2 separate regions of the Homo sapiens genome follow, and region 1 is linked to region 2. Evidence: promoter capture Hi-C in human tissues and cell types (Jung and others, 2019). All regions are on one chromosome and are shown on one strand. The core of a region is centred on a gene start or on the middle of the fragment in contact, and the rest is flanking DNA. Distances in the headings are between cores, read along the strand shown.

What was found. The method cuts DNA at HindIII sites, captures the fragments that hold promoters and counts their contacts. A contact is called where the count stands out against the background at its distance.
Region 1: a fragment that was not itself captured here is called in contact with the fragment with the promoter of BCL2A1 in region 2 in 1 of the 25 tissues and cell types used here (liver).

Annotation. Positions count from the first base shown.
Region 1 is chr15:79,840,979-79,843,694 of GRCh38, forward strand. ST20-MTHFS (ST20-MTHFS readthrough) reads right to left here. Exons shown (of 4, transcript NM_001199760.2): 4 at 2,569-2,716. It overlaps MTHFS (methenyltetrahydrofolate synthetase), which reads right to left. Exons shown (of 3, transcript NM_006441.4): 3 at 2,569-2,716. Among named protein-coding and RNA genes, the nearest start is that of MTHFS, 55 kb to the right of the region's middle. The HindIII fragment of the contact is 6,213 bases long and covers 1-2,716 here.
Region 2 is chr15:79,969,813-79,972,901 of GRCh38, forward strand. BCL2A1 (BCL2 related protein A1) reads right to left here and starts at 1,384. Exons shown (of 2, transcript NM_004049.4): 1 at 888-1,384. The coding sequence starts at 1,307. RefSeq lists an enhancer at 808-2,007. The HindIII fragment of the contact is 21,858 bases long and covers 1-3,089 here.

The DNA of each region.
Region 1 (2,716 bases), core at 15-2,514, 130 kb before region 2:
TCATCACTGAGACACAAAGGAACTACTTTCAGAGACTTGTAGTATGAAGAGTGCATATAAAAATGGCTATTTGGAAATATTTTCATCATTATATGACTATGTTGCCAAAAACTATTAATAGTGTGACACCTACAAACACTTTCACATCTACACAACTGAAAAATTTGTAAGCAGAATTTTTCTAACTTGATTTAAAATCTTTGAAAGAATTTCAGTAAGCTTCGAACCTACTTGTTTTTTATGTTTTTGTTGTTGTTGTTGTTGTTGTTGTTGTTAGAGACGGGGTCTTGCTCTGTCACCCAGGCTGGACTTCAGTGCCGCAATCATAGCTCACTGTAACCTCGAACTCCAGCCCCTACTTTTTAACAAAGTAAATGTGTAGCACCTTCTGATTAACATGCAAAAATGACAGATTCACATCAAGAAAATGGATATTTACCAGCCAGATTTAAATTAAAAAAAAATTATCTTTGCAAAATTGGTAAATAGGATTGAAAATTTTAGTAGGTATAGTTTTCCTTCCATCTGAATCTGCTTCTCTAGAAGGTATCCTTTTCAGCTCTAACAGCCCTTAAGACCAAATATTGAAATAAACTGAAATTAGAACCAGAATTTTGAATCATTCAAAAGGTGTTAAAATAAGGTTTTCAAAAATAGTAAATGTCCAAAAGATTTCATTTAAAAAATATTGCTTTTTTAAAAAGTCCATTATAAATTATATATAACATATTCTACTTCAACATCATCTCATGCTGCTCTTGATCATATTGCTCTTTTTAAAAATGAGTATATTACACTTATTTATATATGTATAAAATATATATAAACAAGTATATTATAAATTATATATCATATATTCTATTTCAACATTATCTCATACTTCTTGTGTGTATATTTTATAATGTGTATGTTATTACTCAGAAAAATTTATTATTACTTTAAGCATATAAATAAACATATTTGGGGGTAGGTGCTTACAGGGATTGGCAACTACCATTAAAGGGCAGGAGGTCTACAATCATCCAGGAATAGGGAAGAAGACAACCCTAAAAAGCAAACAAGAGAGCACTAAGAAGGAAAAGTAGCACAGAAAGACAATGTGACACACACACATGGACTGCCCAACACAACGCAATGCAGTAATAGAAAACTTGTTCTGGGATAATCCAAGCCTGAGACAATGCTAAGGGGACAGAATCTCAGCAGCAAACAGCAACCAACATAAAAATGAGCAAGTGCACAGCACAGGCAGGGCAATATTCAAACTGGTTCATTCCTTCATCAAGAATTGATTGGCTCTTAGGCATTCCTGAAGAAGAATTAGGAAGGAGGCTTACCCTCATAGCCATCAAGACTTAAAACTATGAGAACTAAAGCAATGTGGGGCTGGTGCTGAGACAGAAAAACATAACAAAGGGACAATGAAGTAAGCCAGCAAACAGATTCACATATATTGGAGAACTTAATCTATAACAGACATAAAGTTACATATTCAATAAATGTTGCTGGAACAACTAAAAAAAGAATTTATTGGCTCTTTATTTTTTGTGTCTGTGGTAGATACTGGAATAAACTATGAACTTGGCAGAGAATTTGCCTTTGAGGAGATTGTAGGGTAGTGGAGAAATTAAGCATGTAAACATATGACTAAAGAGCAGTGTGATCAACTGAATTTCAATGATCTCTGCAGGAAAAAAAAAAAAAAATTGGGACCAGGAACTGTCTGCAGCAAGACACTCACGCCTAGTCACATTTATCAATCTCCTAGTTAGTAAGACTTTGTGATTAAGTGTATAATGCTCTTGACTAGAACTTTATATAGTTTACTTTCTAATTAAATTAAGCACAGTTCTATAGTACATACAGCAAACACAGACCTATGTTGGGGCCCTGATATATTTCCAATTTCCCAATATTTGAAATTGTTTTTGTGCAGATCTAGTTGCTATTTCTCTTCTACTCAGATTGTCCCCTCATCTGAGACGCTCATCATTCTTGCTTCATGTTAGCCTCTACTGAAGTGCTTGCCTCCTGAGTCTAAGGCCTTGTCTTCAGCCTCTGTGTATGCCCTAATCAGAGTTACAGTGTTGTAATCACCTACATCATAGGGGCATTTTCTCCCTTCCAATATCCCTGCACAAAGACTACTGTGCATTAGTGATCACTAGGGAGTGCTTCTCTTTTCAGGCCGAGATCCTGTGGCCCTCTGACTTTCCTGAATCTCAGCACCCTGCATTTTCTGGCCAGTTAACTCGGCATTCTGTCTGCACTTGAGGAGCTGGTAGAGTGGTTTTTAAATGCTCTCATTTAACAGAAGAATAACATAGACTAAGTTCAACAATGCCAAACTTTCTAGACCTGCAGCAGGTCAGGAATTTTACTGCTCTACCATTTCACACCAACAGTCATGTCAGCTACATTAACATTCACTTTAACCTTATAGTCGAAATAATACTTAACAATATTTTTAACCAGTACAATAATGTGACTTCATAGCTTCTGAGAATTCAGTTTCCTTCCCTTTCCTCATCATACATATTATATTGTACAAACCCATATTCAGCCTGATATTTTTCAAATGTTTTTACTTTTGTACATAAAACATCAAATTTATGCTACTATCCAAAGAATAATGGATGAGTATTTTGAATGAAACACTTCCAATGTATTCAATTATTTCATTAAAAAATTCTCTCTCTCACACACACACTATATG
Region 2 (3,089 bases), core at 134-2,633:
GTTTTGCATGCAAAATAATTGATAACAGTGGTTACCTCTTGGGAGAGGTGAAGGCCGTTGGAGAGAGGATCAATGAACACTTAAGTGCTTTAAAAAAATAATTATTAAGTATATTGGAATATAAAGGAAACCATATACATCCAGCTGTGTCAGGCTTTTTACCAACATGAGTTTCAACACAGGCCTCTACATAGTCTTGGCTTTTTTAGGCACTGATAATAAAGTAAATTTTTATTTGAAAATTCTTGAATAAAGGTTCTTGCTGGTCATACAGTATATTATGTTTTAATCAACAAACTTTAACAGCCCGGAATTTATTATTAGTAATAATGTGTTATATATTATATGTAATGTAATTTGCTATATATTAATATATGTTACTATTTATTATGTATTAGTAAACTGAAAAACACCAATTTGTAAGCGATGAACTTACAAAAATTTACACCTGTCTTTTGCAACCCATAAATACCTAAAAATAACAGCATCTGATAGCAACTTTCTGTGCTGATTGTAGAAATTTCTGTACTGTCTGTACTGTCATGACAACCCTAGCAAAAGCTAAGTACTAGATTAGAGTGTGTGCACAGCTGATTGTGAAGCTGCATGAGAGAGGTGCTTTATTAATCCCCAAAGCTCACTACTGTAATTTATACTGTTAAGAATAAAAACTGAAAACATAAGTGCTTTCCAACTATAAAGTTCAAGTTCAAGGATTCATTGGAAATAAGCCAGAAAGTATATTTTTATTTTAAAAATTAAAACAAACCACCCAAGGAAAATAGTATTCTTAGGTAAAGTGTTTTGTTGTTGTTTTAACTAGCAAGGAAATTCTCAATTTCTATTTCACAGGAAAGAACAATGAAGAATTTTTCCATCACACATACCCAGCCTCCGTTTTGCCTTATCCATTCTCCTGTGTTATTCATTATGAACTCCGCAACAAAATATGAAATCTCCTTATAGGTATCCACATCCGGGGCAATTTGCTGTCGTAGAAGTTTCTTGATGAGAATACCTTCAAATGCAAATATGGTTACAATTCTTCCCCAGTTAATGATGCCGTCTTCAAACTCCTTTTCCATCACTTGGTTGAATAGTGTTCTGGCAGTGTCTACGGACACAACATTAACATTGTCCAAGCATGACTTCAGATTCTTTTCCACTTCTTTTTGGACTGAGAACGCAACATTTTGTAGCACTCTGGACGTTTTGCTTGGACCTGATCCAGGTTGTGGTATCTGTAGGACGCACTGCAGATAGTCCTGAGCCAGCCTGTAAATATATCCAAATTCACAGTCTGTCATCTTCTGCCTGGTGGAGAGCAAAGTCTTGAGCTGGCTCACCTTGAAGCTGTTGAGGCAATGTGCTGAGAATGCTCACTGAGCTTGACTGAGTTATGACACATGATGATACATGGAGGCTGGTGGAATTTCTGTTTGCATCACTTTATAATATCCTTCCTCCTAGTCACTTTCGTGCGTAGGCTGTGTTTCATGTCATGTATGAAAGAGAAAGTTTAAAATGTGAAAGAGGAAAATGTTTCAGAGAAGCCACTTCCTCATCCTGTGATTAATTCAGCTTTGCAAGTCTTAAATGCAGGATGTGGAGAAATTAGAATCCTTGTAGATTGCTGGTGGGAATGTGAAATGGTACAACCCCTGTGAAAATGTTGGCAGTTTCTCAAAAAGTTAAATACAGAATTGTCAAAAGACCCAGCAATTCCATTCATAGGTATACACCCAACAGATACTCAAATACTTACATACGAATGTACATGGCAGCACTATTCACAATAGCCAAGATGTGGACACAACTCAAATGTTCATCAACAGACGAAAGGATAAATAAATTATGGAACATTATTCATCCCAAAAAAGGAATGAAGAACTGATACATGCTTCAACAGGAATGAACCTCAAAAACATTAGGCTAATAGAAAGAAGCCAAACAGAAAAGGTCATACATTATGTGATTCTATTTCTATGAAATATCCAGACAGTTAAATCCATAGGATAGAAAGCAAATTGGTGGTTGACAGGGGCTGAGAAGAGGAAGGAGTAACTGCTTAATGGGTAGAAGGTTTTCTTTTGTGTGATGAAAATGTTTTACAAGGCCGGCCGCGTTGGCTCACGCCTGTAATCCTAGCACTTTGGGAGGACAAGGCGGGCGGATTGCCTGAGCTCAGGAGTTTGAGACCAGCCTGGGCAATATGGTAAATCCCCGTCTGTACTAAAATACAAAAAATTAGCCAGGCGGGTGGCGTGTGCCTGTAATCCCAGCTACTCGGGAGGCTGAGGCAGGAGAATTGCTTGAACCCGGGAGACAGAAGTTGCAGTGAGCCAAGATCACGCCACTGCACTCCAGTCTGGGCAACAGAGCGAGACTCTGTCTCCAAAAAAAAAAAGAAAAGAAAATGTTTTGCAGCTAGATAGAGGTGGAAGTTGCACAACACTGCGAAGGTACTAAATGCCACTGAATTGTTCACTTTAAAATGGTTCTGTGAATTTCAAATTTAAGAAAAGTCTTAAACGCCATCCACGGGGTAAACCGGAGTAACGACAATTTGGAATGGAGACTACAAAACAGCCTGGGTGGCAGAGAACAGGGCCTCTCGAGGTGACTCTGGCAGTACCGCCCTTGATCATTTGTAATTGAGTAAGGATGATACCGAGAGGGAAGAAAAAAATACCCTCTTTGGGCCAGGCACGGTGGCTCACCCCTGTAATCCCAGCACTTTGGGAGGCTGAGGCGAGCGGATCACGAGATCAGAAGATCGAGACCATCCTGGCTAACACAGTGAAACCCCATCTCTACCAAAAATACAAAAAATTAGCCAGGCATGGTGGCGGGCACCTGTAGTCCCAGCTACTTGGGAGGCTGAGGCAGGAGAATCCTTTGAACCCAGGAGGCGGAGCTTGCAGTGAGCTGAGATTGTGCCACTGCACTCCAGCCTGGGCGACAGAGCGAGACTCCATCTCAAAAAAAAAAAAAAGAAAAAGAAAAAGAAAATACCTTCTTTGGTCTTCACCTTCCACCTACTCTAGAATTTCTGATAGAAAACAAAATTCTGCTTTAAGCCTGACTTA